5 separate regions of the Homo sapiens genome follow, and regions 2, 3, 4 and 5 are each linked to region 1. The links are contacts of gene promoters, found by promoter capture Hi-C in blood cells and fetal thymus (Javierre and others, 2016). All regions are on one chromosome and are shown on one strand. Each heading gives the region's core, a stretch centred on a gene start or on the middle of the fragment in contact. The rest is flanking DNA. Distances are from core to core; before and after follow the strand shown. Region 1 holds the start of BID (BH3 interacting domain death agonist). Region 2 overlaps USP18 (ubiquitin specific peptidase 18). Region 3 overlaps TUBA8 (tubulin alpha 8). Region 4 holds the start of TUBA8 (tubulin alpha 8). Region 5 has its middle 15 kb from the start of LINC01634.

Evidence for each region. The method cuts DNA at HindIII sites, captures the fragments that hold promoters and counts their contacts. A CHiCAGO score of 5 or more calls a contact.
Region 2: a contact is called between a fragment that was not itself captured here and the fragment with the promoter of BID in region 1, in 3 of 17 cell types (total B cells, activated CD4 T cells and erythroblasts). The highest score is 6.1, in total B cells.
Region 3: a contact is called between a fragment that was not itself captured here and the fragment with the promoter of BID in region 1, in 1 of 17 cell types (M1 macrophages). The highest score is 5.7, in M1 macrophages.
Region 4: a contact is called between the fragment with the promoter of TUBA8 here and the fragment with the promoter of BID in region 1, in 1 of 17 cell types (megakaryocytes). The highest score is 7.4, in megakaryocytes.
Region 5: a fragment that was not itself captured here is called in contact with the fragment with the promoter of BID in region 1 in 1 of 17 cell types (erythroblasts); the score reaches 6.2 in erythroblasts.

Annotation. Positions count from the first base shown.
Region 1 is chr22:17,773,144-17,775,832 of GRCh38, forward strand. BID (BH3 interacting domain death agonist) reads right to left here and starts at 1,326. Exons shown (of 6, transcript NM_001196.4): 1 at 1,238-1,326. RefSeq lists silencers at 835-1,164, 1,195-1,264, 1,285-1,334, 1,355-1,454. The HindIII fragment of the contact is 11,451 bases long and covers 1-2,689 here.
Region 2 is chr22:18,151,922-18,154,610 of GRCh38, forward strand. All of the region lies in intron 1 of USP18 (ubiquitin specific peptidase 18), which reads left to right. Among named protein-coding and RNA genes, the nearest start is that of USP18, 3.1 kb to the left of the region's middle. RefSeq lists an enhancer at 669-918. The HindIII fragment of the contact is 1,046 bases long and covers 806-1,851 here.
Region 3 is chr22:18,127,106-18,129,794 of GRCh38, forward strand. The region is part of intron 4 of TUBA8 (tubulin alpha 8); the gene reads left to right. Among named protein-coding and RNA genes, the nearest start is that of TUBA8, 18 kb to the left of the region's middle. The HindIII fragment of the contact is 6,961 bases long and covers 1-2,689 here.
Region 4 is chr22:18,109,467-18,112,155 of GRCh38, forward strand. It overlaps TUBA8 (tubulin alpha 8), which reads left to right and starts at 1,343. Exons shown (of 5, transcript NM_018943.3): 1 at 1,343-1,402. The coding sequence starts at 1,400. RefSeq lists an enhancer at 840-1,039 and a silencer at 1,120-1,509. The HindIII fragment of the contact is 5,564 bases long and covers 1-2,689 here.
Region 5 is chr22:18,043,150-18,045,838 of GRCh38, forward strand. No RefSeq gene overlaps it. Among named protein-coding and RNA genes, the nearest start is that of LINC01634, 15 kb to the left of the region's middle. The HindIII fragment of the contact is 245 bases long and covers 1,229-1,473 here.

The sequences.
Region 1 (2,689 bases), core at 76-2,575:
GGGGCAGAAGGGGCAGGGACGCACACCCTGGGCCGCAGGCAGAGGCTTGGCCAGGGTCGTCCTCCCGGCAGTGCCTCCCTGGAGCTCTGTCTACCTCAACTCCTGATGCCAGAGGATCCCTCTGCGCTCCCCACACCCTTAAGACCCCAGCTCAGGGAATCTGGTCTCGGTCATCACTCCCAGGGGACTGCAGGGCCCCAGGACGGCACACATTCAGGCCCAGGAGAGCTCCCCCCATCTCAAAGCCTCCTGTGGGTGGAGATGGAATGTGGAAAAACCGCATCCTCTGCAGCTCCCCCACAGTGAGAGCGAGGACTGAGGGTGTGGATAAGGCTCCAGGAAGGGGGTGCAAGCCTGAGAAGGTGGAAGAGCTCTGGGTGGGTCCATCTGCTCCTCACCTGCCCCAACCCTGCCTGCAGGTGAAGGCCGGTCCAGCCGCAGAAGGCCCAGCCCCCAGCCCACTTACAGAATCCGCACTGTGCTCCTCCAGCCGGCCCGGCCCCTCGCTGCCCACCGAGCCATCATGACCCCAGCACCGCTGCACATTCGTATTTGTTGAATGAATGAATGAACCCTTGCCAGCCCAGCCACTTGGTGGCTGAGGGCTTCAGAGCTCTCCCAGGGTCCCCTGGGGTCATTCAGCCACTCAACAGTTTCCCAGCAGCAGCAGCGAGGATCCGCACATCATTGCCAGTGCTCTAAGGAGCGGGCGAGCCCCAGTAAGCGGCCGCTCTGACCGCGCTTTGTCAGCCCTGAGCTCCGCTCGGGAGGAGCCGGCAGGTGTCTGCGGTGCTGGAAAGACCACGGTGTGGGCGGGGATTCCGATCCGCCGGCAAGGGTGGCCTGCACCCGGCCAGGCCCGCGGGTTTTCTCCTCTCCGGGGCTGGCCTCGGCCCCTCCCCCTCCCCGCGCCCCGCACCCCTCCCCTGAATCCCCAGGCCACGTGGAGAGGACACAACAAAGCCTTCCCCGCCTCCGAGGCGGACCCGACCCTCAGCACCGACCTGCCGGCCGCGCCGAGGAGGGCGCCCGGGCGGAGGGGAGGCGGGAGAGACCCGGCCCTCAGGTCGCTGCTGAGGCCTGGGGCTCTGACCCCCCGCCTCCCCTCCTCTGGCTCCCACCGCGGTCGGGCCCAGGGCGGGCGGCGGGCCCTGAGCTCCACGCCGGGGCAGGCGGCAGGCAGGGGTCACGGGCTGGGGCTCGGCGCGTACCCCGGGAGGGGCGCGGGTGCACTCACCACCCTCCAGCCGCGGGGGCGCGGGCGCGTCCGGGCCGAGGCAGCGTCTCCCAGGCGCGCGGACACGGTCGACTACCCGCTTCCTCCTTATGGCGCCCCGCGCGCTTCCTCCTTCGGCCCCCCACGCCCGGGCCCGCCCCGGCCCGCCCCGGCCCGCCCCCGGCGGCTTGCGGGGACCCGGGGAGCCCGCGCCGGCGCGGGGCTGTGGAGCGGGGCGGGGAGCCGGCAGCGCAGTGAGAACCAGGCTTTCCACCCTTACCCCTTACGCGACTGTTTCAGACAGTGTCGTCCAACTTTAAGTTGGCCACTTACTCCAGCGCCGCTGGGATAATTCCTAATGATTCTCTGGGAAACATTCAGAATCCCCAGGCTGTTTCTGGAACAGTCTGGGGTGGTCATTCTAGGTCCTCACGGAACCAGGGGTTTGGAAAGTGGGTGAAGCCATGTGGGTTGCAGAGAATCTGGCCCAGCCCCTCACCAGTCCCTGTGCTTGTTGTTTATTCTTTAATTATTTGGATATCAACTCTGATTTAAAACATCAGTTTAACATATAGATAATGCTGGGACTACAGGCGCACACCACACCCAACTAATTTCTTTTTCAGTTTTTAGTGGAGGTGGTGGGGGGGGGGTCTCCACCTCTGGAGGTCTCAGGCTGGTCTCGAACTCCTGGGCTCCAGCGATGCTTCCCACCTCGGCCTCCCAAGGTGCTGGAATGACAGGCCAGTCCATGCATCCCCGGATGCAGCTCTCACCGGCAGTGCTGCTGCAGAGCCCTTTGTGGGCGTCTTCACTTCTCTTGAGTGTGATACCTAGGAGTGGAAATGCGAATCATAGGGCTGGACGAGCTTCATGGTATTAAAAACTGCCTGCTTTCCAAGGTGATGCACACCGTTCGGCACTTCCACCAGCCCTGTTGGAGCGTCCAGTTGCTCTGCGCCCTCGCGTGGGCTCACTCCCTGAGCCCACTGTGGCTCCTCCAGACGCCCTCACTTCTACCCGGGCTCCCTAGACTCTTGCCTCTTTTATAAAAGGTCAGAGGATGTCACTCACGCTTTAACATCCTCTGAATAAAAGCCAAGTTCCTTTCAGTGGCCCGCAGAGTCCCACGCGACCTGCCCTGCTCTAAGCAAATCCTACCCTGTCCCTGTTCCTCCTCGGCAGCCCCATGGCCTCTGGCTTTCACCAGGCCTCACTTCATTTTCCTCCACAGCCAGCATCGCAGCATGACATACCACGGAGTCGTTTGTGTGTGTGTTGCCTACCTCCCCTCTCGGAATGTAGCCTCCACGAGGACAGGGGCTTGTTTCCTGCATGCTCTTCACTCGGGCTGGGCACTCTGGGGGGCTAACAAATGGAAGATCCTGTGAGCAGGGAAACCGTCAGATGGCATTAGGGGCCGGTGCCCTGCAGAAGACGAAAGGGAAACTTCATGGACTGAGGCCAGGTCAT
Region 2 (2,689 bases), core at 79-2,578, 380 kb after region 1:
CAGGCGCCTGTAGTCCCAACTACTCGGGAGGCTGAGGCAGGAGAATGGCGTGAACCTGGGAGGCGGAGCTTGCAGTGAGCCAAGATCCGGCCACTGCACTCCAGCCTGGGCGACAGAGGGAGACTCCGTCTCAAAAATAAAAATAAAAATAAAAAAAGAAAAAAGAAATGCAAAATAATGTGAACACGTCATCGAGACTGCGGTCTACAATTGTGGTTGCCATGATGGGGTGGGTCGGAAGACACCGAGGCTGCTTGAATCATGTTCCTGGCAGGTTAATTTTGTTCCTTTTAGGGCATCTAAATGTTGGAGTTGGCTTTCCTGGCAGAGAGTCCAGTTGTGAGTGGAGTATTGGGTGGAGGCCCCACCCTCCCCAGGTTTTCTGCAGCTTGTTCCTGGCTCTTCTGGGGCTTCTCTGAGGACCCCGATTGGTCCTGGGGCTTCTTTAGTGGTGGGCCTGGGCCAGTTCCTTCCGTTGCTCACCTCTCCCCGAAGCTTAAGGATAACATTTCGGGAAGATCATGAGAGAACGTGAACCAAAAAAAAAAAAAAAAATTCAGGTAGGGTGGGAGCTAAGTTAGTTTAGTATTTGGGATTTTTGTTTTGTTTTGTTTGAGACAGAGTCTCAAACAAAGACCCCGCGCCTGGCCTGGGGGTCTTTTTTTGAGTCAGCAGTTGAGTTTGAAAATCCCCTTCCTTGGAATCCGCCCAGGCTGTTTTCTCTGGTGGATGCTTATTGCCCCTGCTAACTTCAGCTGCGGTCTCTCTGCTCGCCTTGCCCTCCCCATCCTCCTTAGACCTTTTAAGCTTCACTTTCCTTTCCTTGCTGCCCCGCCTCCCTGTCTCCCCAGTGTGATCTACCCTGAAAGGCTGCTGTATTTTGTTTCCCTTTGGGACCGAGCCTGCTCAAATGATCTGCTCCATGAGGTTTTACTGCTATATCCTACTGAAGTATCTGGGAGGTCTTGGCGGAGAAGAGGACAACATCTTGGAAAATGCAGCCTGGAACCTCTCTGCTCTCTTTCATCAGCTTTCCCTCAATGATGAGCTCAAAATCCTCTTTCTTGCTGATGGAATTGTCTGCTGTCATCATTTCAGTTGAGTCCTCCTAGGCTGGGCCTTGTAAGAAGAACAACTGTTTATAACTATTGAAAGTCAATATTTACTAAGAAAAAGAGGTTGTTGTTATCTGAGCCATCCAACATGAATTTAAGAATATATTCCAGGCTGGGCGCGGTGGCTCATGCCTGTAATCCCAGCACTTTGGGAGGCCGAGATGGGTGGATCACCTGAGGTCAGGAGTTCAAGACCAGCCTGGCCAACATGGTGAAACCCCGTCTCTACTAAAAATACAAAAATTAGCCATGCGTGGTGGCACATGCCTGTAGTTCCAACTATTTGGGACACTAAGGCAGGGGAAGTGCTTGAACTCGGGAGGCAGAGGTTGCAGTGAGCTGAGATTGTACCACTGCACTCCAGCCTGGGTAAAAAGAGTGAAATTCCATCTCAAAAAAAAAAAAGGAGACAGGGTCTTGCCCTGTTGCCCAGGCTGGAGTGCCGTGGCACGATCATAACTCACTGTGGCCTCAAATTCCTGGGCTCAACTGATTCTCCTGCCTCAGTCTCCCAAGTAGCTGGGACCACAAGTACATGCCACCATGCTAGGCTAATTTTATTTTTATTTTTAGAAAATAAAATATTTTTTATTTTATTTAGGCAACATGCTATGTTGCCTAGACTGGTCTTGAACTCCTGGCTTCAAGCTATCCTCTTGCCTCAGCCAACCAAAGTGCTGGGATTGCAGGTGTGAACTGCCATGCCTGGCTTTCTATTCTCTATTTCTAGGAGATAAGCTTTTTGAGCTTTCACATATGAGTGTGAACATGTGGTATTTATCTTTCTGTGCCTAGGTTATTCCACTTAACGTAATGTACTCCAGGCTCATCCATGTTGATGGGAATTACAGGATTTCATTCTCTTGTAATGGCTGAATAACATCCCATTTTGTGTATATAGTCCACATGTTCTTTATCCATTCCTCTTTTGATAGACACTTAGGTTGATTCCGTATCTCGGGTATTATGAGCAGTGCTGCAGTAAACATGAGAGTGCAAATATCTCTTCAACATACTGATTCCCTTTCCTTTGGATATATATTCAGCAGTGGCATTACTAGATCATGTGGTATATCTATTTTTAGGTTTTTAAGGAATCTCCATACTGTTTTCCATAATGGCTCTACTAATTTACATTCCCACCAATGATTTGGTTGAGTTTATTCCTCACTCTGAGCAGCATGTTAGCTGGACTTAAACCCCGTCCAGCTTGTCTACATCTGGCCCATCACTTGCCAGTGGGAAAGGCACTTACTTCTTTGTATCTCAGTTTTCTCATCTGTCAAATGGAAATATAACAGTAATTAATTCACATGGCTGTGTAAGGATAAATAAGACAGTACATATAAAAGGCTTTCACCTTTTATAAGAAATAGTGCTTCGATGTTACCCATTATTATTATTTTATTTCATCTTATTTATTTATTTAGATACAAGGTCTCATTTGTTGCCCAGGCTGGAGTGTAGTGGCACAATCATAGTTCAGTGCAGCCTCAAACTCCTGGCCTCAAGTGATCCTCCTCCTTCACCCTTCTCAGTATTTGGGGCCACAGGCGTGCACCACTATGACCATC
Region 3 (2,689 bases), core at 49-2,548, 350 kb after region 1:
TCCATGGGCGCTTCAGGCTTTATGTGATGATAAGGGGAGGGGGACTTCAACCAAATGTAACATGAATGGAATTCAGCTTTGGTTGAGACACAAGTGCTGTCAAAGTTTTGTCTGTTTAGGCCATTTTAGAAAAGTTTGGTGCTATTTTAAATTGATTAATTGGTTAATCACCTTTGGTTTTGTTTACTGAGCAACAAGTAATGATTTGGTATTGGCCCAAATCTACTCACCTGAAGTACAGTGCTTTTGGTGTTCATGATTTGGTTCAATTTGCCTAACGTTAGTTTTGTTTTTTTTTTTTTTTTTGAGACGGAGTCTCACTCTGTCACCCAGGCTGGAGTGCAGTGGCACCATCTGGGCTCACTGCAAGCTCCACCTCTCAGGTTCACGCCATTCTCCTGCCTCAGCCTCCCAAGTAGCTGGGACTACAGGCGCCCGCCGCCACGCCCAGCTAATTTTTTGTATGTTTAGTAGAGATGGGGTTTCACCGTGTTAGCCAGGATGGTCTCGATCTCCTGACCTCGTGATCCGCCCGCCTTGGCCTCCCAAAGTGCTGGGATTACAGGCGTGAGCCACTGTGCCCGGACTTTTTTTTTTTTTTTTTTTTTGTGAAACGGAGTGTCGCTCTGTCACCAAGGCTGGAGTGCAGTGGCGCGATCTAGGCTCACTGCAAGCTCCACCTCCTGGGTTCACGCCATTCTCCTGCCTCAGCCTCCCGAGTAACTGGGACTACAGGCGCCTGCTACCACACCCGGCTAATTTTTTGTATTTTTAGTAGAGACGGGGTTTCACCGTGTTAGCCAGGATGGTCTTGATCTCCTAACCTTGTGATCTGCCCGTCTCGGCTGGGATTACAGGCAGGAGCCACCGCGCCTGGCCTCCAACCTAAAGTTAGTTTTAATGGATATTTTACACTTCTTTGTACAGCATGATTTTGTGGCCATTTTAATTTTAGAGTTAACCAAATTATTCCAGTTGCCAGAGGAGTATGATGCCTCTCTCTAACAAAAAGCTGTGTTCTCCCAATTTATTTTGAAAACTTAAAATATCTATCCTGCACATCTTAATCAATTTGGAGTAATAAGATACTTTTATAGTTGTTCTATGATTGCTATTTTCCATTGCCATTAACCAGGAGTAAGCAAAAACCAGCAAGCCGTGTGGCTGGTGGTAACCAAGTGCCCGCAGTCTGGAAAATGCCAGGCTCAGAGAGTCAGTGGGGAGATACAAAATAGCGAGGGTAGACCCTGGGGCCCCAGGACCAGGAATGCTGAATGGTAGAAGTCACCCCTCTGAGCTGGACCGGCAGGCAAGCAGCCTGGCTGTGCACATGAACAGCTCAGCCACTCCACCCATGGTCTTTTGTCAGATTCTGCCATCATAACAGCTACCACATTCACATTAACTACTGCCCTGTAGTCAGGATTTCTTTTTTTATTTTTTATTGTATTTTTCCCCTGAGATGGAGTCTTGCTCTGTTGCCCGGGCTGGAGTGCAGTGGTGCAATCTTGGCTCACTGCAAACTTTGCCTCCCGGGTTCAAGTGATTCTCCTGCCTTAGCCTCCCAGGTAGCTGGGATTACAGGCATGCACCACCACGCCTGGCTAATTTTTGTATTTTTAGTAGAGATGGGGTTTCACCATGTTGGCCAGGCTGGTCTCGAACTCCTGACCTCAGGTGATCCACCTGCCTCAGCCTCTCAAAGCATTGGGATTACAGGCGTGAGCCACCAAGCCTGGCCCCTAGTCATGCTTTCAATCATTCAGAGGTTTTACTGGTACCTATTGTGTGTCAGGGTTTGTCTCAGTTGCTGGAGGTGAAGAGATGAGCATGCCTCAGTTTTCTTGGCGGGAGTTACAAGTGTGAGGCACCAGCTGCGTGCTGGCCTCATAGCTGCCCTGCATGGGTCTGAGGCTTTGACCTGGCTGTTCTGCTGAGTGAGGAGTGTAGCATTCCTTTTCACTGCTATCCTTCTAGCTACATATATAATTTCCCCCCAAGACTATGCCTATTTTTTATGTGACAGTTCTAATCATCCTGGCAAAACCAGTCAAGGTCTTCCAAAAAATGAAATTCTTTTTTCTTTTTCAAATGGAAACAAACAACCAGCTAGTAGGAGAATGAATGGGGAAAAAAGAGAATGAATGAGAGACATGGTGGGTGATGGGGAAATTAACAAAGCGGAAATGTCCCCTCATTCTCTCTCCTTAAAGCAGAAGCTCTGGAGTTATGTCCTGAAGGATCATTATGGTAGCATTAGCATAAGCTAAGAAAAGTATGTTCCCTGGAGAGGATGCTGCTAAACTTCATCTTCTTGCATTCTCTCCAACAGTACTTGTCCCCACTTGACTCAGGTCAAGAGATGTTAGCACTTAGAGGAGAACAGGTTGGCCCAGGCACAAGGTTTATGGCAGTCGGCTCAGTTCTAGCAATGTATGTGATGTGGCCAAATTCATATACATTGCCTTTCCCTTCCCCACTTTGCCCCTCTCCCAGTATCACCTCCACCTCCAAGATGCCACCTGTGCCTAAGAGGAATGACGGCTGCTGTGGGTCCAGTGGCTGCCTGGCTACCCATGTTGCCACACAGCTGGCTGCCATTCCCACACCAGCCCCTCAGGAGGATGTGCATTTTAAAGCTATGGATTTAAGAGACTGGCGATTAAAATGTGGTGGTCTCAGTGGGAGA
Region 4 (2,689 bases), core at 93-2,592, 340 kb after region 1:
GATCTTACATTATAAGATAGACAAAAATTCAACGCATGCTTTACTAAGTACCGTTTGTATCAGTGGGTAAAGCACTGTGTTTGGTACTCTCTCAAATGCAAAGATGATTACGACACATGTACTATCGTTTATGAATGGGTGGCCAACAGAACAGATTGCCGCATAGGTAAGCAGAAATCTGCTCTCATTCTCTATTGGCCACAAGCAGGCATGTCTTAGGAGCAGAAGGGTAGGAAGATCTCTAACTGTGCTTGGAAACTTGGGGAGTTACCACGTCTGGCTAAAGTGGTATTGTCTTAAGGAAAACCTATGAATTTGCCTGCGTTGGCTTGGTGCTGAGGAAAGTGGAAGAGAGAGGCTGGGGTACACCTTTCAACATGAATGGAACTGACCACTGGAGGGAAAGAACAAGAAACAGCAGTGAGAACAAGGAACAAAGACCATCCAGCCCCTCACCCACCTGGGGGGAAGTGAGGGGAGATGGGCAGGGTGACAACGTGGCCAACATCTAAAGTGTGAAGAGGGGCTTTTACCAAGTGCCCACCCCTTCCCGAGCAGGGGGCAACCAACAGCATCTGGCGGGTCTTACTACTGGGCAGAGGCAGGGGAACCCTGGTATGAGTTCTGGATTACATAGGAGATGTGACTTGGACACGTTTGGGGCTTAAAAGTAGGAAGGGATCAAGGGGGGAGATTTGAAAATCCCGGTGGAGGTGCGAGGTATCCGGGGAGAGGGTAAAAACGGGAACAGTCTTCAGCACCTGCCTGTACCAGGAGCTCTGTGTATGCCATCTCATTTCCGTCTCCAGCAACCAGGCGGGCCTTGGCGGCAGGAGGCACAGGCTTTGGGAGCAGAGGCCCTGCAGCTTGCCAAGCACACACGGCCCTAGGGCGCCCAGCTGAGACGGCACCTTGGCACCCGGGCCCGCTGCAGCCCGCTCCGGTCAGCTGCACCCCAGTCAGGAGCCTTTCCAGCGGGTCGGAGGAGAACGGAAGTTTGGGGAGACCCGCGCGATTCGCCTGGCTGCATTTTACATTTCTTTCTCCGGCAGCTGGGGTCACGAAGGCTGCTCTCGCCGGCGGTGTTGGAACGTGGACACGTGCGCTTTGGTAATAGGGCAGCCTCCCCCGCGGGCGCAGTCCCCGCTGCGAGCGCCCCCGGCTGCTGAGGCGGGACCGAGGACCCGGAGATTTGAGCCGCGGGTGGGCGGGGAGGGGCCTTTGTGACCTGCCCGCCCCTCCCCGGCACTGTGATGCCGGGGGGCAGCTGCGGGCCCGGCGCGCCTGTCCCCGGCGTCCCCCCCTCCCGGTGTGTCACAACGGCGGAGGCGGCTGTATCTGGAGCAGTCGGGGCGGGCAGGCCCAGCTGAGAGGTGCGCGGGCGAGGACAGCGGCAGCGATGGTGAGGCTTCCCGGGGCCAGGCGGGCTGCGGGCGCGCGGCAGGCGTAGGACCGAGAGCCGAGTCTACGCGGAGGCGCACGGACCCGTCTTCCTGGAGCCGCAGGGCTCAAGGCCTTCTGGGGGTGGCAGTTCAGGGTCGAGGAGTCCGCACCCTCGGGCGGGAACACCCGGTGCCCTTTATCGTATGGGGGAAATAGAGACCAGGGGCCAGTTGTTCCTTAAAGGGACCTAAGGGAGCTTTGCGTGCAGACGAGGGGGAGGGAGGCCCTGGGGAGCCCGACGGAGAAGGGGGCGAGATTCTGGGGTCCCCAGATGGGCAGCCTGTGGACAGAGTGGAGAGAAGGGCGAGTCCGGGGATTCTGGATGGGTGGTCTGGGCCGGGGCGACTGGGGGGCCAGATGCAGTCACGTCTCCGAACCCAGCCTAATGTGACAGGGCCCGGAATGTGACAGAGGACCTAGGGCGCCACGGTCCCCCCACGCGTGGAGGTCTTTCTCGCAAGCCTGGCCAGCGGCTTGGGTTTGCTGCACGCACAGCCCCAGCGCGGCGGGGTCCTCCGGGCGCACTCAGCAGCTCCCAAGTCTTTCCAGCGGTCAGAGTCGAAGGACTTTGGGAGTAAGAAGTCTCTGCTTCCAAAGGCCAGGGGACCTTCGACCTGTTTCCTACCCTGGCTTAGGGGGATCGCGGCTGCTCCCTTCCCTGCCCCCGCCCCTGGATCTTACTGAGGGGCGGCTGCAAACACTCAGTTCCTCTTTCTAGGGTCCCCCTCTCCGCCCCCAGTGCCCCTGGTGGTTAACATTTGCCCCCAGTCCACTTTCCCAAAGCCCAGAATCCCAGGAATCCCTCCTGGACCCCTGATCTTTCAGCAGTAGGGAGATGGGCTGGAAAGATTGGGGGCAGAGTGAGGGCAGAATAAGCCTATGTCATGGCCAAGGTCGGGTTCCCTGGGCAGGCTTGCTCCAGGTGTCAGTGATCCAGAAAGCAGGCGAGAACCCCCTCCGCCCCGCCCTGTTACGTTTGGCCCGTGCCCAGGGCCTCCTGGCTCCCCCGGAGCTCTAGCCTTCCAGCTTCAGTTTTGTCAGCACCCTCCCTCCTCCTAGCGGGCTCCCAGACACCCCTGGGAACTGAAAGAACTTGGGAATATTAGGGAGGGTGGCCACAGGAACCTATTTCTGCCTGAGGACCCTGGTATGAGGCCACACAAAGGGCCCGGAGCTGCCAGTTCAGAATTTTGACTCCTGGCTCTGCAGCTAGCTGTGTGACTTCAGGAAGGTCACTTAACCTCTC
Region 5 (2,689 bases), core at 101-2,600, 270 kb after region 1:
ATTTGTTGGTTATCTTTATGTTTCAAAACTTCTTAGATGTAGCAGAACTGGGCCTATAAAATAATAATACATGCCTGTAATCCCAGCACTTTGGGAGGCCGAGGCAGGCAGATCACCTGAGGTCAGGAGTTTGAGACCAGCCTGACCAACATGGAGAAACCCCGTCTCTACTAAAAATACAAAAATATAGCTGGGCATGGTGGTGCACAGCTGTAATCCCAGCTACTTGGGAGGCTGAGGCAGGAGAACCGCTTGAACCTGGAGGCGGAGGTTGCAGTGAGCCAAGATGGTGCCATTGCACTCCAGCCTGGGCGAGACAGTGAGACTTCGTCTCGGAAAAAAAAAAAAGATACTAGCTTGGGAACAATATATCAAAAATTTCACATGTAGGCCAGGCATGTTGACTCATGCATGTAATCCCAGCACTTTGGGAGGCTGAGGCAGGCAGCTCACTTGAGCCCAGGAGTTTGAGACCAGCCTGGGCAACATGGTGAAACCCCATCTCTACAAAACAATTTTAAAAAATAAGCTGGTCATGATGGCACACAGCTGTACTCCCAGCTACTTGGGAGGCTGAGGCAGGAGGATAGCTTGAGCCCAGGAGATTGTGAGGCTGCAGTGAGCCGTGTTGGCACCCCAGCCTGGGCAATACAGCAAGACCCTGTTGCCAAAAAAAAAAAAAAATTCTCATCTAAGTGAACACTGCCTTCCCATTGATGACCTTGAGAGGTTAGAGACCAATGGCAGTGACGGTGATCACATTATTATTTGAAGCCTTATTTGAATATTTAAGACTTAGTATGTTTGTTTAAAAAAATAATCATGTTGCATCATAACCATACTTTGTAAGACCAGATTACCGGTGACCGCTCGTGATGTTAAGCTAGTGAAGACAATGCAAGGTGGCCTGAAGCAGCATGAGGCAGACCATGGTCCCGACCTGCATTGGCTGGTGCTGGCTGCAGCTGCTGATGGAGGCTACAAACAGTGATAGAAGCATGCAGAAGCTACACAGCACAGGCCAAGGTGCTGTGGGAGAGGCGGAGGAGGAACACTGACCACTGGCGGCCTGGGGACACGGGAGGGCTGGCTTCTGAAACTCCATGGTGTGAGAATTCTGATCGCAGTAGGTAACTTTTCTGATGGGAAAGGTGCAGCATTGGTGGAAAAACAGGAGATGGCACTCAAGAATTTATACTGGAGAGAGACCAAGGACAGAGATTCTAAAAGCTTAAAGAAGGATAAACACCCGTGGCATGGGCATTCGTGTGTGTGTGTGTGTGTGTGTGTGTGTGTGTGTGTGTGTGAATTGCCAGAGCAAACTCTTATCCACCATGTTGTGCAAAAGTTATTAGGTTGATTAAGTTGTTGGCTTTTCTTTCCACGGGTTTGATAGAAAGTACGCACACACATCTTTTGTGTGGTATGACAGTGTGTGTGTACTCAGGGGAGGGTGCACGGGAGGTCAGTGGAAGCTTGTGTGTGGAGGGCAGGGGAGGATTTGGGTGTGAAAAGCCCAGAAATAGGGTGAGAGGCAATGTGTTCCATAGCCAAGGGTGAGAGTCAGGCAGAGATTTGCTTTCTTGGGCTTTGAGTCATGCCGATACTCATCGCTTAGCCTCATATATGGTAAGAATGGAGCGGGTGCTCTCTGTCTCAGTCTCTCCCTCACTCTCTCTTTTTCCCCCAGCAGCTGTGCAAAGCTTAAACCATGTGACCCTGAAAGCACAACACTGAAAGCCTCTGGCTGTGCCAAGAGGAGAGTGTAGGGAGACAAAGGCCAAGGCCAGGGCCAGGGCCAGCTGCCAGGAACTCCCATCCCCAGCAGGGATACAGAGAAATAACAGCAAGACGCCATTCGCCGACGCTCTCCTCATCAGGCCAACTCTCTAACTTGGAGATGAGGCCCTCCCGACTTTCTTTCCCGGCTCCCACCCTCCTGTCCACCCACCTCCTCAGAGTGAAACCCCAGGGCCCAGGAGCCAAATGCTGTCCTCTCTCTCTCTGGAGGGCCTGGGGGGCACCTGTACAGGCCAGATGGAGTCCTGAAGAGCTCAGGGTTTTGGAGTATAGGAGAGGGAGGAGACCCTCTGGAGGGTGGAGTCTGGAAGTTCAATAAGGTCTGTAGGATTTGAATAGCAGGATCAGCTCGGTATAACTGAGACACAGTCTTTGCACAAGGCTAAGACATCTCTTCCAGTCACATTCCAGTTTATGCAATGCACCTGCTGTTGGCTGATGGCCTCTGCTAGGAGGCCTTCAGGAGGAAGTAGAACCAATTTGGTGCCCTCATCCTTCCTCTCTCTTTCTTTACTTCTCCAGGCCCACCGCAACCTCATCAATCCTTACCTGAAGTCTTAGTTCTACCACAGGCCCGAGACCTAGATATTCTGGTTGGACTTCTTACCAGATCCACAAGGCGCTGCATATATCCTCTTAAAATAGCCATTTGTACTTCCCTGGGTCTTGCTCTGTTACCCATGCTGGAGTGTAGTGGTGCGATCACAGCTCACTGCAGCCTTGACTTCCCGGGCTTAAGCGATCCTCCCACCTCCCACCTCTGCTTCCTGAGTAGCTGGGACCATTGGCGTGCAACACCACACCCTGCTAATTCTTATAGAGACAGGGTCTCACTATATTGTCCAGACTGGTCTCAAACTCCTGGGCTCAAGTGAGCTACCTGCTTCGA